Linked DNA regions of Homo sapiens: all the other regions are linked to region 1. Evidence: promoter capture Hi-C in 16 types of primary human blood cells and fetal thymus (Javierre and others, 2016). All regions are on one chromosome and are shown on one strand. The core of a region is centred on a gene start or on the middle of the fragment in contact, and the rest is flanking DNA. Distances in the headings are between cores, read along the strand shown.

What was found. Contacts are between HindIII fragments. The CHiCAGO score rates a contact against its expected background, and 5 or more counts as called.
Region 2: a fragment that was not itself captured here is called in contact with the fragment with the promoter of ACTR1B in region 1 in 1 of 17 cell types (fetal thymus); the score reaches 6.0 in fetal thymus.
Region 3: a contact is called between a fragment that was not itself captured here and the fragment with the promoter of ACTR1B in region 1, in 1 of 17 cell types (neutrophils). The highest score is 5.0, in neutrophils.
Region 4: a fragment that was not itself captured here is called in contact with the fragment with the promoter of ACTR1B in region 1 in 2 of 17 cell types (fetal thymus and naive CD4 T cells); the score reaches 7.5 in fetal thymus.

The regions. Positions count from the first base shown.
Region 1 is chr2:97,659,712-97,666,001 of GRCh38, forward strand. It overlaps ACTR1B (actin related protein 1B), which reads right to left and starts at 4,333. Exons shown (of 11, transcript NM_005735.4): 1 at 4,132-4,333; 2 at 2,171-2,235; 3 at 860-935. The coding sequence starts at 4,179. It overlaps LOC124900516 (U4 spliceosomal RNA), which reads right to left and starts at 5,020; the gene lies at 4,880-5,020. It also overlaps a transcript of C2orf92 not described here and the pseudogene RNU4-8P. RefSeq lists enhancers at 2,795-3,436, 3,402-3,471, 4,512-4,851 and silencers at 3,832-3,891, 3,972-4,431. The HindIII fragment of the contact is 7,381 bases long and covers 2,938-6,290 here.
Region 2 is chr2:99,145,819-99,152,504 of GRCh38, forward strand. All of the region lies in intron 1 of TSGA10 (testis specific 10), which reads right to left. It overlaps C2orf15 (chromosome 2 open reading frame 15), which reads left to right. Exons shown (of 4, transcript NM_144706.4): 3 at 1,584-1,675; 4 at 4,665-5,851. The coding sequence starts at 4,741. The coding sequence ends at 5,016. Among named protein-coding and RNA genes, the nearest start is that of TSGA10, 5.8 kb to the right of the region's middle. The HindIII fragment of the contact is 5,617 bases long and covers 1,914-6,686 here.
Region 3 is chr2:98,818,883-98,825,151 of GRCh38, forward strand. CRACDL (CRACD like) reads right to left here. Exons shown (of 10, transcript NM_207362.3): 7 at 2,975-4,655. Among named protein-coding and RNA genes, the nearest start is that of LINC02611, 50 kb to the left of the region's middle. The HindIII fragment of the contact is 2,438 bases long and covers 372-2,809 here.
Region 4 is chr2:99,176,717-99,182,993 of GRCh38, forward strand. MITD1 (microtubule interacting and trafficking domain containing 1) reads right to left here and starts at 4,342. Exons shown (of 7, transcript NM_138798.3): 1 at 4,115-4,342. The coding sequence starts at 4,265. It overlaps MRPL30 (mitochondrial ribosomal protein L30), which reads left to right and starts at 4,468. Exons shown (of 6, transcript NM_145212.4): 1 at 4,468-4,533. RefSeq lists enhancers at 4,010-4,149, 4,160-4,389, 4,410-4,459 and a silencer at 4,677-4,849. The HindIII fragment of the contact is 610 bases long and covers 3,237-3,846 here.

The DNA.
Region 1 (6,290 bases), core at 3,083-5,582:
GAGAGGGTGGCAGTGTGCCCCGCAATCTGCAGGCTCTCTTCTTCCCCATTCTCACTGCCGGCACATCCCCCACATTCTCCTCACACTCTGCCAGCTCCCCTCTGGCCAGCGCCGGCACCTTGCAGCCGCCCAACACGGCCCCTCCTGGGCCACCTGTGCCCCCTGACCTACGCCTCTCCCCCCAGCCCTTTGGCCGGTCCTCACCAGTCCCCTGTTTGCACTGACATGCTGCCTCCACCTGCCCTTCGATGTCCCCCCAGCCATGCCCCTTCTCACCTAGCACCACTTAGCTCCTCTCACCACCTCGGCTCCTACGGACCCCATCTGCGAGACCCCCACCCTCTGCACCTCCAGCTCAGGCCTCCCCTTTCTGGGCCCAGAACCACGCATGCCCCACGCCCCGGCACCCGACACAATGCTCCTCAGGCGCCTAAACTGCCCTTGGCCAAGCTCAGCTTGCTGCTCTCCCCACACCCACACATGCTCTCCTGAGGGTCTGATCAGGCCATGCAGCCCCTTGGTGGGACACTCCGGCTTCACTGTGAGAGGCGGCCCCATGGCCCTCATTAGAGCAGACGTGAAGTGTGTGTGATTCTGACTCTTATATCACTTTTTGATCAGTTCTTGGTTCTGTAGCTTCCAAATAGCTTCTAAAAGACAGGACACGATGAGCTCTACCCATGCTCCCTAGAAGAGGAACTGCTGCCCCATCTCAGGGGGAGGTGCCCCTGCACAGCACTTCCCAGCTGGAGCCTGGAGGAGGTACCCGGGAGGTCACCAGCAGAGGCCCAAGAACACATGCCATGTTCCTGCAACTGAGGACCCCACCCCCAGGGAAAGGCAGGCTCCTCGGTGTTACCTCTGCTTTTGGTCCGATGAAGAGGTCCCCCTCCAGGGCTCCAGCCATCACCCGCATGTGCTTCGGCCGCCCGACACTGTTAGGACGGATAACGTCAGCAAGGTGGGCAGGGAGCATGGCAGAGCTTGTGTCCAGAAAAACCGAAATCCAACCATAGTCGCCCAGAGGGTACCTGGCCTCCAAACACCAGGATGTGGCTGGGGGGCACAGGTTGGAACTGGGGCCTATGGGGTTCGGGGCTAGAGAGGGGGCCTAGGCAGGACGAGAAGCTCAGGGTCAGAAGGCACGGTCAGCAGAGACAGCTGCATGTCTGAGCGCCAGAACCCAGCCCTCCATGGCCCAGCCCTTGCAGAGGGTCGGCTTCCTGCAGCCACAGTGACTCAGCCCACGCTCCTGACTTCGGTGGGGCAGGGCTGCCGTCACCATCCACAGACTGAGGGAGGACAACCCCAGGAAGCTGGGTCGGGGCTCCCTTGTGCACCCTGCTCTCACTCAGTCAAGCGCCCTACCCCACTGCCAGCGCTTCTGGATCAGAGATTCAGTTCTTGGAAACTATAGGATCTGATGAGCTACCACTAAAGGCAAAGGAACCTCTAATTATACCCATGCAGTCAGAAAGGAATGCTGAAGCTCGACAGGGCGCACCATGCTAGCTCTGTCCCAGACCAGGCCGGGCTCGGGCTAGCCTGCCACTCGGGGCCTAGGATCCCCTGCTGCCCGCTGCCTTTAGGCCACTCATTCCAAAGCCTCCAGGATTTGTGAAGAGGTGCCCCTAAGGGCAACTTTCCCAATGGGCTCGTGGTGGGTGCAAGGGGCACCCCAGGCTCTCTGGGTTTGCAATTCTTATTCCCGCCCCCACCAGTACCATACAGGGCAAAGGATCCCCTCTTAACTGAAACAAGACATTTTCTAGAGTCTGAAAACAAGCCCGGCAGAAAACACTTCCAGGGAGGAAAGGGTGGCTGTGCATCTAATTCCTCACTCTTCCTGCTCCGAGTTTAGGGCTCCCCTCGGAGATGTCTCCCTTTATTCTTGCTGCTGCTACCACACCCCATCCCCAGGGAAATGCTGGTTGCTTTTCCTCCTTGCTGGCTCAACAAGACCAAAACGAGAGACTCCCAAGACAAAGGGGAACCCTAGAACGCTTGTCTTGTTCTTTCAGTGCTCTCTCAAGAGTGTCAACCTCACAAATTTGGTGTTTTCCATACAGGTCAGGGCACAAATTGTCTTCAAAGAGCCCTGTGACAGAAGGCCAATGTTCTTACAGAAGGTAAACAAAAGGACTAAGGCTGCTGCCTGAGCCACACTTACTAGTTTGGGAAACAGTATTTGGGAATCTGGTCTCCTGCAAAGCCAGCTTTAATCACCCCCGAACCCTGCAAGGAAAAACAAAGTTGAGCTGCCCACATGCACCACCAGATGAAGCCAGTCCCCCGCAATGGAGAGAGCTGGCTGCCCCGTCAAGGCAGGCCAAGGAGGAAGCCAGGGACCCTGCCAGGATCATTTACAAGTACACCTATGGTTCAAGATTGGGGGCAATTTTGTATCCCCCTGCTCTGGCAACATTTGGCAATGTCTGGCAGCTGGGGAGAGGGGACATGCAGTGGGGGATGCTATTGGCATCTAGTGGGCAGAGGCCAAGGATGCTGCTCAACATCCTACGATGCACAGGCGAGCCTGCACTACCAACAAGGAGCTAGCCCAGAATGTCAATAATATAGAGATAGAGAAACCACGAAGGGCACCTTCCTCTGCACAACTAATGGTTGGCTCCAGCAGGATTCCATAGCACATGCTACTCCCAAAAGCTAGAAGAAACCCCTCTGTGTGGGTCTTTTTTTTTTTTTTTCAACAGCTTCCTTCTCCCCCAAGAACCCAGAAGGCATGGAACATGGACGACCTACAGGGCCTGCTGGAGAAGACCAATGGGTGCATGGGATGACCGGCAGCTTCCCTCAAGTGGCTTCCCAGAGACTACTAGGAGAACTTGGTCCTATCGCTGCCCCCACCTGGAAGCTGGACTTAAGGATCCCCCAAAGAACGGGGCAATTAGAAACCTCCCACCCAGCGAAGGGATAAGCTTCTCAACTCAGTCCCACCACTCTTCATCGCAACCCTCTGAGTCTGCAGCAGAAACAAACATCTCCAAGTTACAGAGGAGGGGATGGAATCCCCAAGGGGCCGAGCGGTAGCCCTTTTAACTTATAAGCCTGTTGATTAGCCTATACGAGTTATTTGCACGTCAAGAAAGGAAGTAGCCTGCTCCTTCCTGCAGCGTCCTGCTGGTGTGACAGCACGTCCCCAAGCTCAGTGCTAACCTCCTTATTAAACATCCCCTGCTGTGACTCAGGGAACCCACATGGGTACTCTAAAACAGTCATTCAGGGACCCCACGGGGTCATGTGGGAGGGAGACAGATCCCAGAAAGAGCACAAGTGAGTCATTACCAAAAACTCCAAGGCCCGCACACCGGACGCACATACCCAGCTAGGGGCAGACTCAAAGATCCCAGCCCTTATCTTCTCCCCATATCAGAGCTCGGAAGCCAGAAATCTTCCTAAGGCAGGTGAAAGCAAGCCGAGCCCCACTGCTGAAGGACAAAGCCACAGGAAGCCTGATGACATCTTTCCTCTGAGGCTTCCAAACGATCACCCCAAATTGCTTGCTGATACTGGGAAGAGTGGCCATGAACTCTCCATTGCTCTGCTGGCTGTGGAATGTTTGCTCAGCACAGGAAGCATTTAAGGAGAAAGTCAAAGTAGCCAAAAGGCAAACCAGATGGTGGTGGACATGTGGGTGACAGAGCATCCTGCATTTGTTGCCTCGGGGTGCAGCCCCAAAGATAAAGCCAGCAGTGTGCAAATGACAAATGCTACCCCACCTCCGCCAGGCAGCCAGAGCCAGGGCCGAAGGACGCGGAAAGGAACTGGTGTGGAAACCTGCCCAGGAACCGCACTCTCAACTGAGAAGAGTCCGGGGCGCGTCCCCGCCCGGCCGCCCGGCTGTCACTCAAGCTCTCCTGAACTTCCCCGCCCGACTCGGGGAGGGGTCGGGGAAGAGGCTCTGCGACGCGGGCGAGGGGGCTCGCCCCATGGCCGGCCTTACAAGGCCAAGAGGGCGCGCGCCCCCGGGGCGAAGCCAGCGGCCCGGCGGGGGCGACGGCCACGCAGTGAGCGGAGGACGCGCCGAGGCGGGCGGGGGTCTCTCCCTGCGCCGCCGCGTGCGCCCCCGGGGGCGGGGCGCCCGCCCTCCCCCTGGCTGCCGGGCCTCACGTTGTCGATGACCACAGGCTGGTTGGCGATGATGTCGTAGGACTCCATGGCCGGGCCGCGCCGGCCCTGCCCAGCAGGCGGGCTGCAGGAGGCACCGGATGGGCGGGCGGGCGGGAGGACCGGGACGGCGGCGGCTCCCGACGCGGCGCCGCTGCCCTCCCTCCCCGAGCCTGCAGCCTACGCGAGCCCCGCGGGGCTTTCTGGAGGGCGGGCCCGGCGGCCAATCATCGCTCCCACCTGGCCCGATTGACAGCAGGTGCCCGGGGCTGGCTGCGCGAAGGGGGCGGGGCCTCCGGAGGCTGGCCAGCCAATTGAGGTCGTCCGGAAAAAAGTGGTCGCGGCGTTGCCAAGGTAGGCTGCGCAGTGTCTGGGATGATGTCATGGCTCCGTCTTAAAGGGGACGCGGGCGGCAGAAAGTGGAGCTGGGCTGGTGTGCGCGCGGCCGGAGTCTGTGGAGCTGGAAATTCACCGGTCCAGGAAGACGTCTTTCCCGCGTCCCAGCACCGGTCCAGAAAGACGTCTTTCCCGCGTCCCAGCACCTCGGGCCACGCTCCTTCGTGAGAGCGCCCTCTCCAAGGAGGCCGGCCCTGGATATTTCACCCAAAATATTTATTTTTTCTTTTTTTCTAGGTAAGGTGTCTTGCTCTGTCGCTCAGGCTGGAAATCTTGGGCTCAAGCGATCCTCCCGCGCCAGCCAGTAGGGGGGACTACAGGCGCGCACCATATTTATTTATTTTTACTGAAATAGTCTCCGTAGAGACTGTTAAAAATTGCCGATGTCGACTATATTGCAAGTCGTCACGGTGGGGTATTGCGAAAAGTTTTCAATTAGCAATAATCGCGCTTCGGATAAACCTCATTGGCCACCATACGGCCACCGCGCAACGCTAGCTAATTAAAAAAAATTTTTTTTGTAGAGAAGGGATCTCGCTATGTTCCCCGGGCTAGCCTCGAACTCCTGAGCTTAAGCGATCCTCCCGCTTAGTCTTTCCAAAGCGTTGGGATTACAGGCGTCAGCTATTGCGCACGGCCCCATAATATTTCCTCGTTGAGCACTGAAGAAAAGATCCTTTTCCTTATAAAAATTACAGTTTCGTGGTATTTTGGTCCTGGCATTTATTGAGCACCTGCTCTGTGCCTGCGGAGCACTTCTGCCCACTTTACATAAGTTATATTAAATCCTTGCAACAATATCAGGTAGTTGTATTATTACTCCCATTTTTCAGTCAGGGTCTTCACACTTTGGTAACCTGCCCAAGATTATTGGGTGTGGAATTGGCATGCAGGTAGCCCCCTGCGGCACTGGAGTCAGCTGCTTCAAGAGTGCAGGATAGTTGAGTTCTACATTTGTTTACCAAACGGATCCATAGTTATTTCCCTGTATATATACCTCTCCCAATGGGTTGTGAGCATAAAATTTGTAAAATTGAAGCGGGTGTGCAGAAATCACAAGTGTACATGTACATTTCAATGAATGATTAAAATGTGGACACACTTGCATAACCACCGAGTTCAAGAAACAATATTGTTGCTGGAAAAGGGGTCCCGATCCAGACCCCAAGGGAGGGTTATTGGATCTTGCCCAGAAGAAATTCAAGGCAAGTTGCAGAGTGCAGTGAGAAGCGATTGTTTATTGAAAGCTACTCAGTTACAGAGTAGGCCATCCTCAGAAAGCAAGAGGGGGAACACACCCTCTTTATATTAAACTCTTCTTATAGAGGGGTCTTATCTATGTAAAAACTAAGCTATGTCTACATGAGGGTGGGCTGACAGCATAACAAAATTTAGTGCTTTTTGATTTAAAGAAAGTTATCCTTGGCATTTTAATGCATAAATACATCAAAGCATGACTCTCTCTCTCTCTCTCTCTCTCTCTCTCTCTCTCTCTCTCTCTCTATATATATATATATATATATATATATATATATATATTTTGTTTTGTTTTGTTTTTTTGAGACAGGGTCTCACCTTGTTGCCCAAGCTGGAGTGCAGTTGCCTGATATCAGCTCACTGCAACCTCCACCTCCCAGGCTCAAGCTATCCTCCTGCCTCAGCCTTCCAAGTAGCTGGGACCACAGGTGTGCACCATCACGCCCAGGTAATTTTTTTGTATTTTTAGTAGAGACCGGGTTTTGCTATGTTGCCCAGGCTGGTCTCGA
Region 2 (6,686 bases), core at 3,472-5,971, 1.5 Mb after region 1:
GCTGTGATCTGGGTTTTGTTATAAAAGGTTCAAACCAGTCCAGGCATGGTGGCTTACGCCAGTAATCCCAGCACTTTGGGAAGTGGGAGGATTGCTTGAGTACAGGCATTCGAGACCAGCCTGGGCAACACAGTGACACCCTGTCTCTACAAAAAAAATGAATTTTAAAAATTAGCCAGATGTGGCCAGGTACGGTGGCTCATGCTGTAATCCAAGCACTTTAGGAGGCCAAGGAGGGCAGATCACTTGAGGTCAGGAATTCGAGACCAGCCTGGCCAACATGGCGAAACATCGTCTCTACTAAAAATACAAAAATTAGCCGGGCATGGTGGCAGGTGCCTGTAATCCCAGCTACTCGGGAGGCCTCAGCAGGAGAATCATGTGAACCCAGAAAGGCGGAGGTTGCAATTTCTTTGCAACTTGAATTTCTCTGATTCCTAGTTAATTATCTGTTTGGGATTCCTCAATCTGTGAATTATGTTTTTATATCCTTTGCCCATTTTTCTATTGGGTTTTCTTTTTCCTTGCTAATTTCTAGGTGTTCTCTTTTTATTCCAGCCATTAAATACCATCAGCTTTGGACACAGAAAATATCTCCTTCCAGTCTCTTATCTATCTTTTTGTTTATATTTTTTTCATTGAATAGAAATTCTCAATTATGAGTAATCAAACTCACTGTTTTCCTCCCTTATTGTTTAAGCTTTTTAGTCTTGTTCAAGAAATCTTTCTTCACTCCAAGGTAACAGATATTTTCTTCTATTGCATTTACAGTTCTGCCATTCACATTTAGGTCTTTAATGCATTTGCACTCCACTTTTTTTTCTTTTTGAGACGGAGTCTTGCTCTGTCGCCCAGGCTGGAGTGCAATGGTATGATCTCAGCTCACTGCAACCTCCACCCCCTGGGTTCAAGCGATTCTCCTGCCTCAGCCTCCTGAGTAGCTGGAATTACAGGCACCCGCCACCACACCTGGCTAATTTTTGTATTTTTAGTAGAGACAGAGTTTCACCATGTTGATCAGGCTGGTCTCGAACTCCTGACCTCGTGATCCGCCCACCTCAGCCTCCCAAAGGGCTAGGATTACAGGCGTGAGCCACCGCGCCCAGCCTACTTCTGTGTTTAAGATCCTGCTTATGTCCACATAGTTAGCCAATGTTCACGATACCATCATACTAAACTTAGTCTGTTCTATCTCCTTTGTCTTATAGTGCCACCTGTGATATATGTGAAGTTCCTGAAATACCTAAGTCCAAGTTACAGCTCTGTCATATTCTACTGATTATTTGTTCCTGTACCTGTACAAGGTTATTTTTATTACTTTCACTTTGTGGCATATCTTTTTGTTTTTTTTAATTTTTTTCTGATAGGGATGAGGTCTCCCTATGTTGCCCAGGCTGGTCTCAAACTGCTGGACTCAAGAGATCTTTCCACCTTGGCCTCCCAAAGTGCTGGAATTACAGGCGTGAGCCATTGTGCCCAGCCGCGTAGCCTATCTTAATATCTAGTAAAGAAAGCCACTTTGTTCTTTTTCTCCAGATTGATTTATCTCTTTATGTACCTTTATTCTTACATATATATTCCAGATTTCTTCTTGAATGGCAACCTAAATGCCAGTCCAAAGAGGCCCCCAATAGACTTGTTCACCCTTCATGTCCTCAACTCTGGGGAAGTTAAGGTAAGACTCACAGGGCCAAGTCTACCCTATTATACTTGGTTCCTCCTCAGTCCTTTTATTAGATTGAAGTTTAATGTGCAAATTGATAATTATATGTTACCATTCTTTTACGTTTGTTGATTTCAAATGCCATGTTTTAGAGTTTTGTGTTTTTTAAAACGTTTTTTCAATTTTGTATTTTGAAAAAGTTTTAAACCTACAGAAATGTAATAATAATAATATGTAGAACAACTTTTTAAGCTTTACCTCCTAGATTTAACAGTTGTTAGCATTTTGCATATTTTACTGTCTTTCTGTATCTATGTATCTATCTATCTATTGCTAAACAATTTGAGGGCAAGTTGCAGATACAATTCTTCACCCCTAACTATTTCAGTATGTATTTCCTAAGAACAAGGACATTGACTTATATAACCACAATACAATTATCATATTCATGGCATTTATCACATTGATCCAATATTATTATCTAATATTGTCCCATATCCAAATGTTTCAGTTATCTAAGTAATGATCTTTGTAGTACATTCCATCCCCTTCCCAATTCAAGAGCATTGGTTGCATCTGAAATAATGTATCTTTAGCCTCCTTTAATCTGAAACAGTTCCTCAGCCTCTCTGTGTCTTTCATAACATTGACATTTTTAGGTAGAAGCTATTTGTTTCATAGAAGATACTTCTGTTTGGGTTTATCTGATTGTTTCCTCATGTTTAGATTCAAGTTATGCATTTGACAGGAGTATTTCCTTTCTAAGAAAAAGAGAAACCAAATAGAATAAACTCAATTTTATTCATTTGAAGGCAGTATTAGATATTCCTTTGATGAGGAAGAAAAATTCATCTTCAAGTTCCAAATCTAAAAATCAAATATACCCATATTTCAGAATTTCATCAGAGATATTAAAAAATTTAGCTAAGTTGTATTTGAGTCCCAGAAAGCCAAATATATACTATTTACCTAATTGTTATATTAATATTTGAGTAAGTACTATATTTAGGCTACTACAGTAGACCCAGGACTCTGTTTTGTTATAAACACTGATATTCAGTCACAAATATGGATAAACAGGGTTTCAAGATGATTCTTTAGAAATGTTCAGTCAGTAATTACAGCTTGATGAGTATGAAATTGTAAACTATCAAAGATACCACAGTAGGTAAATATTAAAGACATAATACATTCTAAAAAGTGGGTGAGGCTGAGCGCAGTGGCTCATGCTTGTAATCCTAGCACTTTGGGAGCTGAGGTGGGTGGATCACCTGAGGTCAGGGGTTCAAGACCAGCCTGGTCAACATGGGGAAACCCCGTCTCTACTAAAAATACAAACGTTAGAGTTTCTGTTTGGGATGATTAAAAGTTCTGGAGATGGATGACCATGATGTTTGCACAAAAATGTAAATGTACTCAATGTCATTGAATTGTACACTTAAAAGTGTTTAAAATGGTAAATGTTATATATATTTTACCACAATAAATAAAATATAGACTGGAAAAAAAATAAATAAAAATAAAAATAAAAATACAAACATTAGCTGGGCCTGGTGGCGGGCACCTGTAATCCCAGCTACTCAGGAGGCTGAGGCAGGAAAATCACTTTAACCTGCCGGGTGGAGGTCCAGTGAGCCGAGATCGCACCACTTCACTCCAGCCTGGGTGAAAGGGTGAAACTCCATCTCAAAAAAAAAAAAAAAATGGGTGAGGGATTTCGATCGAAGCTGTGGAATCTGCTCCAGATCTCAGGTTGCTACTATAGCATCTTGGGTAGATCACTCTTCTCCAGTAAGCCCTGGGCTTTCTCAAACCTTTTCTGTACAGGAAGCCTGTCCCTTCTGCCATCCTGGTCAACTCTGCCTACCAAATTCCTGCCCATCTTTGAAAGCGAAACCCTAACCTAGGCTCCCCTCCTTTGGGAAACTTCCCAAGGCCTCCCTCCATGCTACATGATCATCTTTTTTTTTTTTTTTTTTAAGACGGAGTCTCGCTCTGTCGCCCAGGCTGGAGTGCAGTGGCGCGATCTCGGCTCACTGCAACCTCAGCCTCCCGGGTTCACACCATTCTTCTGCCTCAGCCTCCCGAGTAGCTGGGACTACAGGTGCCCGCCACCACGCCCGGCTAATTCTTGGTATTTTTAATACAGATGGGGTTTCACCATATTAGCCAGGATGGTCTCGATCTCCTGACCTCGTGATCCACCCACCTCAGCCTCCCAAAGTGCTGGGATTACAGGTGTGAGCCACTGCGCTCGGCCGATCATCTCTTTTTACAGACTAGACATCCTTAATCACAAGTATCTTTTTTTTTTTTTTTTTTTTTTTTAAGACAGAGTCTCGCTCTTGTCGCCCAGGCTGGAGTGCAGTGGTGCAATATTGGCTCACTGCAACCTCCGTCTTCCAGGTTCAAGCTATTCTCTTGCCTCAGCCTCCTGAATAGCTGGGATTTCAGGTGCATGCCACCACACCCAGCTAATTTTTGTATTTTTAGCAGAGATGGGGTTTCACCATGTTGGCCAGGCTGGTCTCTCAATCCTAACCTTTGGTGATCCACCCGCCTCGGCCCCCAAAGTGCTGGGATTACAGGCGTGGGCCACCGCACCCAGCCAATCACAAGTATCTTTATAGGACATCTTTATTTTTTACAGAAAATAAAGTACTAGCAGAGTACTTGGCCTTCAGTCGTTATTTCTTTAGCCCATTAGTAATGAATAAAGAGGTTTCGCTAGCAAGAATGAAAGAAAGGACTAAGAGAAGCTCTACTATTTTCTGAAAGGTGATAAAACATACAATCAGATAAATTTCCTTTTAAAAAGACTTTCAAATAAATCTTTAGAACCTGCAAACCCTCCCACAAAGAAAATGTAAACACTGAAAGGTAGGAGGCAATTTTACTTTATATTTCTAGTATCACCACAGCTTTTCATTCAAACAAACATTGCCATGAAGTTAGGGAAATTCCTGCTGCATTCACTTGTTACTTTTTTTTTTTTTTTCAGTAATCAAGTTGAAGAAACACTTCCACTACTTAAAAAGGTACCTGCAAATTACTTTCACATTTGTTCAGCTATCCTAATGGGATTTTCACTTAGTAAATCTGCTACTCAGGTATCTGCTATACATATGGATTCAAAAGTGGATGATCACTTAATACGAGGGACTGAAAAAAGCAGGTTGGAACCAGCGACTCAGTTATTTCAAAACACCAAGAAAATAAGATTAGAAGACACAAATCAAGAAAACTTTACAAGGATTGAAGGGACTGGCACAGGATCTCTTTCTGGGAAAGCCTTGGGTTCAGTGGTATATGTCAAAGAAAGTGATGGACTAGAAATGACAGATGTGGAATGAAGCAATTTGTACGTATTACCAAAGAAACCAAAAACTGCCTTTGACTAAGGGGGGTGTTGAAAGAGAACTTAACCTTATTAGGAAACCCTGACAAAATGATGGAAGACTATTGCCTTATTTTGCACTATTTGTGAATCATCTTACACTGCATTTTTTTATGATGCTTATTCAAAAGGCAGTTGCTTTAGGGTGAAAAAGCCTTCCAAGATTCAAAGCAGATTTCTCTGGTATTATATTATATCCTTCTTAAAAACCAGAGTTTTTAAGTAACAGTATTTGAATGGCATCAAAACATTTTCATTTTAATGTATTTCTTTAACAAGTGGTTAAAAAAAGTGTCCAAGCAGCCGGGCGCAGTGGCTCACACCTGTAATCCCAGCACTTTGGGAGGCCAAGGCGGGTCAATCACCTGAGGTCAGGAGTTCGCAACCAGCCTGGCCAATATGGTGAGACCCCATCTCTACTAAAAATGCAAAAAGTTAGCCAGGCATGGTGGTGGGCACCTGTGATCCCAGCTACCTGGGAGGCTGAGGAAGGAGAATCGCTTGAACCCTGGAGGCGGAGGCTGCACTGAGCTGAGGTCATGCCATTGTACTCCAGCCTGGGCAACAAGAGCAAAACTCCGTCTCAAAAAAAAAAAAAAAAAAAAAAAAGTCCAAGCAATGTGACATCCGTATTTCACAATATTTCTGGTGTATCAGTTTTGTATGTTACATTTCCATTTTGGGATTCTGCTTTATGATACTTTACTTTCTTACATTTTGCATTTTTGTTCTGTAAAAGATCACTGCCAATAAACTGCAAAAGACCAATAAATTGCATATCTTCAGAAGGATTTCACATTTTAAATCGTGCCTTTAAAACTGCTTTTTCCCCCCACATAGAATCCATTTTAGAGTTAGAAAAGTGTTCTTTCCAAGTGTTAATAGTTTGTCTTGCAGATGGTACCATTTTATGTCACCAATATTTAATATGAGAAAAAACAACCTGTTTAAAAACCTTGTTTTGTATATCAGTTATGAAAATATCTGGTAGTTGGAAATCTCTTTAATATTCATTTTAAAAGAGGAAAGGGCATCTTTTCCGGGGGGAAGCTATATTTTATTAATCAGAAAAATACTAAACAAATGTGTTTGTAGGGAATATTGAGAGTGAAAAACAATTGTTGAATGGGACATAAGCCAAAAAGACAATGCTTTTTATTATTTACAGAACGTAATTCTTTAGAAGAGAAAAAAAATACATAAATCATTCATTTGTTCACCTAGCCTGGCACTGTGCTTGGTGCTGGAGATACAGTAGTGAATAAAATAGCCAGTGCCTTGTAGAGTTTTGTGCCTGTCTACTAGGAAAGACAGGAGATTATACAGTAATTATATAAGATGCAAATTGTGATATGCCATGAAGAAACGTATAGCATTCAGAGGGACATAACACAACACAAGACATACCACATAAAACTGATTTTTTTTAAGATGGTCTCACTCTGTTGCCCAGGCTGGAGTGCAGTGGAGCGATCATAGCTCAGTGCAGTGTCGAATTCCTGTTCTTAAGCGATCTTCCTGCCTCAGCCTCCTAGTAGCTAGGATTACAGGCATGTGCCACCATACCCAGCATGTTTTTGTATTTTTTTAGAGACAGAGTCTTACAATGTTACCCAGACTGGTCTC
Region 3 (6,269 bases), core at 341-2,840, 1.2 Mb after region 1:
CAATACCACTGCCCCTGCCCCCAGAGTTGCTTCCCTATAGAATGTGGGTAATTCCTTCCCTCTCTCTGTGTTAAAATGAATATCATTAACCATACCCATAAAGTAACCTAGATTCTTCTTTCGTTTTGAAATTCATCTAACTCTGACATTTCTATGGCTTTAGTGAATGTGATTAAACTTAGATGGATGAGACAATTCTCTTCTACTATATAAGCAAAGCTGTTAATAAAAAAAATACTCTATTACATTTTATAAATCAAAGAAAAATACACAAAGTATTTACAGATTATCCCAGGCATTTTATAGTGAAGAAAGCCTGGCTTAGGTTGAGAAACTTACATATAAATAATGGGCAAAGCATTGCCCTCTGAAGCTTCTTTTTCAGATCTGACTACGAGCTTGATATTCTGTTTTTAAGTTCCATTCATTTAGCAAGCTCTTGAGAGACATTTTCAATTCTAGGCCATGAAGGTCAGGGTTTCATGTGCACAGAGAGCAACTCCTTCCTCCCTTGCTACTTCAATGGCTTTTTGAATCACTCTACAATAGCTTCAATAACCTCAATGGAAATCTGCAGAGTGGATCGTCAGTGATGGTTTGAACTTCCTCCAGATTCCGCACTGATTATCCTACTGCAGTGGCAGCAGCAACACAAAATCACGGCTGTGCCAAGGGGCCTTCAGATTGGGAAGGCCACATGTGTGGGCTCTTTGGAACTGTGAATCCTTGTGTGTCACGTTAGGAATTTAAAGCACTGTAAAAGAGCCAGAAAAGATTAGACTATTTTGGAACTGTTTTCACATTGTTTTGTATGAGCTAATTTTCTTCCTATGTATGCATCTTCCTCTTAGGGTGCAGGATTCCCTAAGAAAGCTACTGGGTTCTATTTCCTCTCTGTCCCACAATACACTGCTTGAGTAGCCTGAAACATTCTTTTTTTTTTTTTTTTTTTTTTGAGATGGAGTCTCGCTCTGTCACCCAGGCTGGAGTGCAGTGGCGTGATCTCGGCTCACTGCAACCTCCGCCTCCTGGGTTCAAGCGATTCTCCTGGCTCAGCCTCCTGAGTAGCTGGGATTAGAGGTGCGCGCCACCATGCCTGGCTAATTTTTGTATTTTTAGTAGAGATGGGGTTTCACCACGTTGGCCAGGCTGGTCTTGAACTCCTGACCTTGTGATCCGCCTGCCTCGGCGTCCCAAAGTGCTGGGATTACAAGTGTGAGCCACCACGCCGGGCCAAAACATTTTTAAAAAACAAAATTTGTCATGGAAAACTTCTCCCTAGGGCCCCCATCACATGCACACACAACTTATTTGTGTAGTTTCATTTTCTGGTTCACAGATTTCCATTAATTTAAAAAACCAGCAGGTCAGGCATGGTGGCTCATGTCTGTAATCCCAGCACTTTGGGAGGCTGAGGCGGGCAGATCACTTGAGGTCAGGAGCTCGAGACCAGCCTGGCCAACATGGTGAAACCTCGTCTCTACCAAAAATATAAAAAAATTAGCCGGGTGTAGTATCGTGTGTGCCTGTAATCCCAGCTACTTGGGAGGCTGAGGCAGGAGAATCACTTGAACCCGGCAGGTGGAGGTTGCAGTGAGCCAAGATCGTACCACTGCATTCCAGCCTGGGCAACAGAGTGAGACGGAGTCTCAAAAACAAACAACAACAAAAACAACAAAAAACCCAGCAATGAAAGATTCTTTAGCTCTGCTGCAAATACACATTTTCAACAGATTTCTCATTTCATCTGAAACACTATAAGAAGTGACAAATGTCAAAGACAGAGAAAGGTCATCTACTTTGTCTCTGCTCATTTCAAAAGACAGCTGCTTTCAAATATTCTTACGTTCTGCCTCAATGTTAACCCAATCTCCCTTTCAGGACAGCAAGTAAATGCTGACCCTCTTGAGAGACTTACGTTTTATACAGACTTGTGATTCCAATATATGGAATACTTTCCATGTTGCAGCTGAGCCACGTGAACCTGATTATGAAGCAGGAGGAAATTCTTTCTTGGAGGAAAAGGTCAGAAGGACCCTAATAGAGGAGTATGTTTCATTTATAGCCAAGAAATAGCTTAGGCCCTGAAAGAACCTGCATCAAAATGAGTACACATGTCCTGGGATTTGGACTTTGCTGAGTTTCTTAGGTCAAAAGTGGGAGAAGAATTTGAGGGATTCGCTGAGAGTCCTATCAAAATCAGTTTTTACGTTTCTCTTTATCTCATGTTTACACACTGACTTCTCTGTACTTATGCAAAATCCTGGTATTTATTTTCCCTTTTCTACTCTTTATTCCTTATTTTATCTCTCTCTTTTTAAAACAGACAGGGTCTCACTCTGTCACCCAGGCTGGAGTGCATGGCACCATCATAGTTCACTGCAGCCTTGAACTCCTGGGCTCAAGCAATCCTATTTCAGCCTCGCAAGTAGCTGGGACTACAGGCCCTCATTACCACGCCTGGCCAGTTTTAAAATTGTTTGTAGAACGACGTCTCACTATGTTGCCCAGGTTGGTGTTGAACTCCTGGGCTTATCAGCAGGCCTTGGCCTCCCAAAGTGCTGGGATTACAGGCATGAGCTACCGAGGTCGGCCTATTCCTTACTCTAGATTAGGGGTGTCCAATCTTTTGGCTTCCCTGGGCCACACTGGAAGAATTGCCTTGGGCCACACATAAAATACACTAAACTAAGGACAGCTGATGAGCTTAAAAAAAAATTCGCAAAAAGTCTCAATGTTTTAAGAAAGTTTACGAATTCATGTTGGGCCACATTCAAAGCCGCCCCGGGCCCAGGCCGCGAGTTGGACAAGCTTGCTCTAGATCAGACATGATGTTAGTGGGAATTCTGACTCCTTCCAATTCCCCTGCAACAAAGTTTGTACCAGGAGCATTTGGCGAGTGTCCAGCAAGATGTGCCCGTGGATGTGGATCTCCCCAGGCCCTGCCCTTCCCGCACCCTCGGCGGGCTCTTACCAGCTCCCCTGCGCAGCGGCCTTTTCTCCGCCGTCCTGGGCTCCTTCCTGGGTTCCCGCTCTCCCGGGCCGGCGTCGGGGGGCGCGGGCTGGTGCGGGAGCGTGAAGCTCTGCAGAAGCGGCTTCCGGGGCAGGGGCGGCTTGGAGCTGAGCGGCTCGGGGGGCCGGGCCTTCCCCTTTCCTTGGTCGCTGGGGGCCCTGGTGCCTCGAAGGGCGGGGGCCGTCCCGAGGGGACACTTCTCCTCCTTCGGGAGCACGGTCAGCGACCTTTCTAACCGGACCTCGGCACTGTACCTCTTCACACCCTTCACCTCCTGAGAGGCGCCATCCCTGTATTTGAGCGAGAGGGAGGTGGACCGGAGCTTGACGGGGAAGGGGTTTCTGTCCTCACTCGGGGCCGGCTCCTGGGCGGCTGGGCAGGGCTCTCTCGTGCCGGGCGCGGCGGCCGCCTCCTGAGGGCTCTTGCGCGGCCCGGCCGGGCTGGCCGCCCTGTCCCCCGAGTCCTGAGGGCCGCGCTCCGCCAGCTTCCGAGGGCCAGGTTTCGCGTGCTGGGGCTCGGGGAGACCCTGGAGGTCGTCAAGAGCCGCCTCGCTCCTCCAGACCGGGCCGCTCCTCGCGAGGGGCAGGCGGCCGCTGGCCCGTTCCAGCGGGCGGGAGACGCCCGGACGAGGCCGCGCTCGGCACGAGGACACCGAGAACTTCTTCGCGCCTCGCAGCTCGGCACCGCCCCTCTCCGCCTTCCGCTCTGGCGCCGCCCTCTCGGCGCCCGCCGGTGGCGCCTCGGCTCGCTCGGCCTTGGGGCGCTCCGGGGCGGCGGCCTCTGCGTCGAGGGAACCGGGGCCGGGCTCCACCGGGGGAGACTCCGCAGCGGCAAGCGGCGGGGACGCGGCGGGGCCCTCGCTGGCGGCCGCGGGCCGGTGTTTCAGGCAGCTCTTGGGCGCCGGCGGGCTCGGGGCGGGCGCCGTGGAGGGCTCGGTCCCAATTCTCTCGGGCTCGGTCCCCGCTCCTCTCTCGGGCTCCGTCTCCGCTTCTCTCTCGGGCTCAGGCGCCGGCCCTGGGGGCCCCTTCTCCTCATCCGGGAGCACGGGCGGCGTCGGCTCCGCTTCCTTCGGGACACTGCGTTCTGGCCCGTCGCGAGCAGAGGGCGCCTCTGAGGTGGCGGCGGGGTCAGTCTCGGGGGGAGTCGTGTCCCCCTCAGGGATGGCGGTGGGAAACGGGCTCGCGACGTCTTCGGGAGCACAGACCACCTCCTCCGCCTTGTCCGTGGCCGGGGCACACGGGCCTGCGGGGGGCGCCTCCCCATCCTGCTTTCCGCCGTCGGGACCGGGATTCGGGGGGCCCTCCGGCGGGGACGGGGGCTCCACGCGGAGAGTGGGGGCCGACTCGGGCTCGGCGAGCTCCGGGGTGGCCGGGCGGCTTGAGGGGTCCTCCCCGGGGACGCCCCCCTCCTCCACGCTGGCCGTGAGCGCGGAGGAGTGCTGCAGGCGGGCGCGTCTGGCACGGGCCCCTCCGGGTGGCGGCAAGGGCGCCGGTGGCCCAGGCTCAGGGCCTCTGTCTGGCGCCACGTCCTGCTGCCCAGAGCTGGGGCGCTCTTCTGGGCTGACTTCCAAAAGTGGCTTCTCCTCGTTTTCCTCCTCCTCTGGGGTGCACGTCAGGTCGCTCAGGGATTCAGACTGAGCGCGCTGAGAGAAATAAAGATAAAAAGCATCGTCGCTATAGCCAATTCCAGGAAGCCTGTCACCTCCCCACTTTTTTCAAGGCTTATAATGGTTTAGTGATAGCAGCACTATAAAGCTGGCACTTAAGTAGGCATGTACCCACGGGTGTCTTTTCTCAGTCTGTATCCTACTGGTCTACTTGGGCTCACAAGTTTATCAGGACAATGGCAGATATGCCTCCAAAGTAAATGTCTACAGCTCCTCTGGCAGAGCCTCAAAACCAGTGGACTAGAGTAACGCCAAGGGAAGGCGACCAACAGCAGCCAGTGTCTGCTATGCTCTGTGCTCCCACACTTGTTATTTCATTTAATCTTCCATTCATCCCAGTGAGGAAGGGATGATGAGTCCCTTTTTGCACTTGAGAGCCAGGAACTCAGAGAGGCCAATACCTTGTTCAAGCCTGGGCAAGCAGGTGGCCGAGCTGAACAGCTGGGACTCTATGGCTCTGTGTTCCTCCCAGCCAGTCTCCCATGTCAACACTTCAGGAATGTACCCTCATAGTAAAGCCAGACTGGTTTTCCTAAAAGATGGCTCATATCATGCCAATAGCTAACCATGGCTTATAGGATAAAACCAAAATTTTCAGCTAAATTTAAAGTCCTAGATTCTCTGGTCTTAAGCCGTTTCTTCCACTCCCTACTCAGGTCAAACCAAGCCCTCAACACTGTGCCAGACACTTGGTCTGAGTGACTGTCACCTCCCCACTCTCCCCCACCCCCCTGCCCCCAACCTCCAAGATACTCTACCAGGGCCCCCAAGGACTATTTCAAACTCTCCCACTCTATGCAGTTTAAGATTCCCCCCTTCTCTGGCCTCCTGAAGCCCTACTGGCTTGGCAAACATACAGTGCCTTGTGATAGTCTTCTTCTGAAAGACCTCTAGAATTCAGATTCCAGTCCAACTTCCTCCTATTGTCACAAAGTCAGTTCCTGCTCTCTCGGGAAGGAAAGGAGCTCCAGGTAACCAAGAATCATTCAAAAGTAACATGTGGAAATGACGAAAAGGTTGATGGTGTAGAGACTGATCTTTTAGAAAGTTTGTGATATTAGACACCAAGAGTCACCCAGGCTATTGCTCTCTCCTTCCCCTTTTCTAAAGCAGGAACTGTGACAGGGTATGTTTGCAATAGGTTTTTCTTCTTGCTGTTTGTTATTATTTTAACATTTTTCATGGCATCTGCTTGCTAATAGAATATAGGATGCCTGGGATGTTTGTGACAATACCTAAGCAAACTCTTGCCAAAATGCACAATCCTATTCTTTTGGATTTAAAAAGAGGAAGAGGCACAAAGAAAGCTACAGAAGAACTTTCAAAAGCTGCAGGTTCTTTACTTTGCCATGTTGATGGCCTTCTGCTACTACAGGAAACTGCTGATGTTGAAACCTCTTTAGGATGGAGGTCACCTTTTAAAACTATCAGTCACAGAGCCCACACAAGGCAGCAGAGGGGGCAGCATGGCTGTTCTTTCCCATCCTGGGAGCATTTAGGGAGCATCTGAAAGCACCTTGATCCCTGAGAGGGGCCAGGCCACAAGGAAGGTCCTTATGGTTGGGAAGAGGGACCTCATGACCAACGGGC
Region 4 (6,277 bases), core at 2,292-4,791, 1.5 Mb after region 1:
CGTTAGTGTTAGTGTATTTTACATGTAACCCAAGACAATTATTTTTCCAATGTGGCCCAGGGAAGCCAAAAGATTTGTTAAAACTCATCTTGTTTATTTTTTGCCCCAGCCCTGAAATACCCTTTTCCAAGGAGCCTCGGTCACTTTTATTGAAGAATGGCATTGAGAAACCAAATTCTGGGTGCCAGCTGTGTTCATTGCTGCTGGGGGAGTCCCACCACTACTTCTAGACCCTCTCAGTCAATACAGCTAGGAGGTATATGTAGGCTTACTAACACATACATCTATATATACATACATCTATATGTATTTGTTTCTGTCCATCTATATAAATATTAAAAACCATGAGTTCATGCTGATAACTTTGATTCCACAGAGCTCATTCTAGCTTTCCCCCATCCCTCTCCTGCCCAAATAAAAGCAAAACACAACCTTTCCTCAACCTTGCTAGACTTTAAATTATGTAGTAGTTCAGTCTTAGTCATTGTCCTTGATCAGCTGGCAGTGTCTCACACATAGACCCATCCTTCAATCATTACGCTACAGTTTCTCAGGCTTGGACCCTTACAGCCATCTTTGATTCCCATTAACCTTACTCCCATATCTAATCATGTGCCAGTGCCCCCTCCTTATCTTAATACTGGTATCATCTCCCTGGTTCATTCAGGCCCTTATCATGCCTCATCTTTTTAAAAAGGTTTTATTAATTTTAATTGGCACATAATAATTATACATATTAATGGGGTACAATGTGATGTTTTGATACATGTATACATTGTGTAATGATCAAATCAGGGTAATTAGGATATCTGTCATCTTAAATATTTATTGTTTCTTTGTGGTAAGAACATTGAAAATCCTTCATTCTAGCTATGTTGAAACATACAACACATTATTAACTCTAGTCACCCTATTGTGTAATAAGACACCAGAATTTATTCCTCTTATTTAACTGTAAATTTTTTTTTTTAAGAGAGGGTTTCACCATGTTGGCCAGGCTGGTCTCGAACTCCTGACCTCAAGTGATCCACCCACCTCAGTCTCCCAAAGTACTGGGATTGCAGGCGTGAGCCACTGCACCTGGCATCTAACTGTAATTTTGTACCCTTTGACCAACCTCTCCCCATTCCTCCTACCCACTGCCCTTCCCAGCTTCTGGTAACCACTATTCTACTCTCTACTTCTATGATATTAACTTTTTTAGATTCCACATATGAGTTAGATCATGTGGTATTTGTCTTTCTGTGTCTGGCTTATTTCACTTAACAATTTCCTACAAGTTTGTCCATGTCACAAATGACAGGATTTCATTTTTTATGGCTGAACAGTACTCTACTGTATATATGTGCCATATTTTCTTTATTCATCTGCTGATAGACACTTGGGTTGATTCCCTATCTTAGCTATTATGAATAGTGCTGCAGTAAGCTTGGGAGTACAAATATCTCTTCAACATAATGATTTCATTTCCTTTGGATATATACCCAGTAGTGGGATCAATGGATCATATGGTAGTTCTCTTTTTAATTTTTTGAGGAATCTCCATACTGTTTTCTATAATGGCTATACACACCTCTTATTTTGATTCCAGCAGGAGCTCCTTAATTGGTCTGCTTAACTTCAGTCTCTACAGGTTAATGTCTACTTTACATCCTTGCCATATTCAGTCCTTTATTCAAGAAATATTTATTGAGAACTAACAACATGCCCAGCACTGTTCTAAGTGCTGTGGATACAGCAGTTCGTAAAACAGACAAAATTCTCTTCTATTGTTCAAGTAGGAAGAGAACAATAAAAATAAATTGGCAAAACATGTATATTAGATTGAGGTAAGTGCTATTAAATAAAATAATGAAGGAGGACAGGGAGTGCTGGGATGGGGTTATAATTTTACACTGGAGGTCTGGGAAAGCCTCACAAAGAAGGTGGTATTTGTGTAAAGGCCTGAAATAGGAGAGAGAGTGTGCCATGCAAATAAATATCTGTGAGAAAAGAGCACATTCCTGAAAGAGACAAGCCCTGAAATGCAACTCCAATTATGTTACTCCTTTGTAAAAACCTTAAATGGTTTCTCCTTGCCTGTGGAATAAGTTAAAATCTCCTGGTAGTCAAGGCCATCCTCAATGTGATCCAAGCCCCTATCTACCTTTAAACTTTACTTCTCACTCTTCCTCTTCAGATACATGCTCAACCAAACTACTTATTTCGTAAGACAGCACAGGAATTTGAAGACTCTTAGATGAATTTCTGACTTCTGAAATTATTTTTCCTCCAAAGCCCCAATCAAACTCCACCTCTACCTTTCCACCCTCACATGACCTTTAACTGTTTAAATCCTCATTGCGTTTATCTATAGATATCTCTCTCCTGGCACTTATTCCCTGTATTAGCGCTATTTGCATTTTGGTCTTAACCCATCTATGTGACATCATTGTCTCTGTAACCTCTACGGGATCAGTGAAGCACCCTAGAGCAGAACTGTGATTCTCCTGCTTCAGATTCCTAGTGCAGCCAAAACTTGAGCAGTGTTCCACCTGACCAACACAGTACACCATCTCTCTTTTGGGATTCAGTATACCAGAGTCGTTGGGGCCTTGGGCTCCGACTGTGACTCTACCACCTCCTAGTGGCAGAACTTGAAAGCGAACAATACTTTTTATGCTGTAAAACGAGAATACCATCAACTCCTACTTGATAGGGCAATTGGTACGGATGAAACGAGATCATGCTTTTAATGTTTTCTGCAATGCCTGGCACTCAGCACTGAAACGTGATATCTATGCTTATTGCTGTTGTCACTGTCATCATTATCATCAAATAATGCCCCAGGCAAGGTAGAGTTTACAGTTATTTTTTCTTTTTTTTGAGACGGAGTCTTGTTCTATTGGCAGACTGGAGTGCAGTGGCGCGATCTCGGCTCACTGCAACCTCCGCCTCCCGGATTCAAGCAATTCTCCTGCCTCAGCCTCCCAAGTGGCTGGGACTACAGGTGCGTGCCACCATGCCCGGCTAATTTTTGTATTTTCAGTAGAGACGGGGTTTCACCATGTTGGCCAGGATGGTCTCGATCTCTTGACCTCATGATCCACCTGCCTCGGCCTCCCAAAAAAGTGCTGGGATTACAGGAGTGAGCCACCGCGCCCGGCCGGTAGAGTTTGTAGTTCTGACCAAAGCACCAAACCATAAAGGGCTCCCCTCTGCTGCCCCAAAGCTTCTGTAACACTTTAATTATAAGAAGCTTAAACTAGAAAGAACAGAGGGAGCTTAGTCCAGACCGGGAGTGTCGGGGGTTGGGGAGCAGGAGCTGATCTTATCAATTTAATACATAAATATTGAGTGTCTACTGTGAGCCAGGGTTGTGCTGGGTGTTAAGGAATATTTGGGTATTTCTCAACATTGAATAATACGAAAAGTCTCACTTGTCTCCTCCACAACCCTGCGCATTTCTCACACCGAACCTCATCCGTTTAAGAAAAACTTTTCTTCTTCTACCGCTACATAATTTTACTTTGGCTTGCTTTAAATGCAAATGTTTAAACAGAAAATTAAAAATAATCGTATAATAAACACCCTTATTACCCATCACCGAAATTTTTAAAATTAGCATTTTTGCTCAAATAGAGCTTCGATTTTTAAGAAATTTTTGCTTAAGGAAAATTAACTAAAGACATCATAGCATCTCTTTCTAAAACACTTTGGTCTGCATCTCTAAAAATTAAGGAAAGTTTTGGAAAAAAAATCATATTGCCTAAGAAAATAATTTTAATGCCCCCCAATCTATATTCAAACTTTTCTAATAGATCCAAAAATGTCTTTTAAAGTTCGTACAAACCCAGGTCCTATCAAAGCTTATATATTACATTGCGTTATATCTTATATCTCTTAAGTCTTTTAAAATCTAGACTAGTAGCCTCCCCACCTTTTCTAGGTAACATCAATCTATTAAAGATCTAAAAGAAAGCGGCCCAGTTGTCCTATAGAATATCCCACCTTCTGTATTTAACTGCTTCTTCGTGGTGTGGAAAAATCATTTTTAACTCTTTCACTTCACCCCAGACACAGCAGGAACCAGCTCCTTTTCCTCAGGTCCTCCCCGCCTTGGCTCATTGCTCACCTTTCAGAACCTGCAGGAGCAGATCAATCCCCTCTTGGTAACACACCAGAGCCTGCGGATACCGCGACTCCGAATCTAGTTCTACTGCCCGCTTTAGCACAGTGGCTGCAGCTGTGCTCTGCGGGTCCTGCCTCAGCCCGGACTTCGCCATAATTCTGGAAGTTCTCCTCCGCCTCAACCCAGGATGAAGTTGAGCGGGTCTGCTGCGCTTCCGGGAAGTGGTCATGTGATACCCAGGCGCCTGCGCTCTCTTTCTAGGGACTTTCCTGAGTGGGAGGGATTTCGCCGGAACAAAAATGCCTCAGTTTGGAGGTCGCGCTCACTGCGACGGCAGGCTTTGAGTGTAGCACTTGGTAGTTCTTCCTCTGCTCTGCTTCCCTTCGGAGGAAAATTTCAGGCTGAAGGTTTAGCGGGTGCCGGTGAGTGGGGAATGAGTGGCGGAGAGTGCGGCATTCTTCGCAAGGTGTATCCGGGAACCCTCTGCAGATCCTAATTGATTTTCCCTATTGCGTACTGAATTGGCCGGTTACGGCAACCTAAATGGGTCTGCCCCTGATCCCGTCACATTGGCTCCCGTAAGGCCATTGGCCTGCAGGATCCCCCCGTTTCCCAATTTGCAGGATCCAGGGCCACGCGGCTTTTTGTGCCCAGACTCTTGGAGCTCAAGAACGGAGCCGCCGAGGCTGGACAGCTTGGGAAAGGGAACCCAAGCAGCATTTTCTGTGCTGCTGCTTTATTCATAACTTAGGGTTGCCACTGGGTATTAAGGTTGCTTTTTTTTTTTTTTAATGAAGACAGAAAATTGCCTTTATCTTTGTATTGCTTCATTTTATAATGCAAACATCCAAGAGTTGGCAGTTAGAATATTTGCCATTTTATTAAAACTGTGATTTGTTACCATTTTGATCGAGACCTACCAAAAGCTGTTTGTTCTGCCCTTTTTGCCAAGAGGCAGTAATGAGGGCTGCCTACTGCTTGTTAGGCACTAGGAGTTCAGAGAAGAGACACGCTTCCAGCTTTCAGAGATCTCTGGTATCTCTGCAAGAGTGATTCCATGTTTTGCATTTCAGAAGTGTTTTTCCCCCTTTAATAATTGTATACATTGTCGGTTTAGAAAAAGAAATCGATTTTTAACATTCCTGTTGCATGCATGCTCATTGTAAAAAGACAAAAGAACTATCGGTCGCTGGGGGGGAGAAGGGGGAGGAAAAACGCCTTTTTTCATACCCCCAGGGGTATGTTAACGTTTTTCTGACAACCTTCCAGAGTTTTTCTGTGATTACACACGTTCACAGACATTTAAAAAAATAGAAATGGGATCATACTTCTCCTGTGATGCCTGATATTTTCCTGTTTTACAGAAGACAGCGTAATTGTTTCAGGGTCCAGGAGTTACGTGCCTAATTATTAACAGTAACTTTTACTTTATTAAAACGTATTCCTTGCCGGGCGTGGTGGCTCACGCCTGTAATCTCAGCACTTTCGGAGGCCGAGGCGGGAGGATCACGAGGTCAGGAGATCGAGACCATCCTGGCTAACACGGTGAAACCCCGTCTCTACTAAAAATACAAAAAATTAGCCGGGCGTCCGGGCGGGCGCCTGTAGTCCCAGCTACTGGGGAGGCCGAGGCAGGAGAATGGCGTGAACCCGGGAGGCGGAGCTTGCAGTGAACCCAGATCGTGCCACTGCACTCCAGCCTGGGCGACAGAGCGAGACTCCGTCTCAAAAAAATAAATAAGATAAAATAAACGTATTCTTTGAGTCAAACGTGGTGACACACACCTAGCTCCAATTACTGGGAAAATTGAGGATTGCTTGAGGCTGAGTTCAATACCAGAAACATAGCGAGACTCTGTCTCTAAAAACTTGTAACTTTTGACTATCACACCTTCAGAAGTCTGTAAATATTTAAACTTCAGTTATTCTGCAAAAATATATTATATGTCTGCTATAGGGCAGATACCGCTTTACACAGATGTTTGGGATACTTCTATGAATATAACAGACCCAAAACAACAAAATCTAAAAACCCTTTTCCTATGGAATTAGCGTGCTATTGAATGTACATGCACTAAACAACAAAACCTAACAGATAATTAAGTTACGTTAGAAGATAAGCACGATAGAAAGCAGTGAAGAGGAATTGGGAGTGTTGACAGTTGG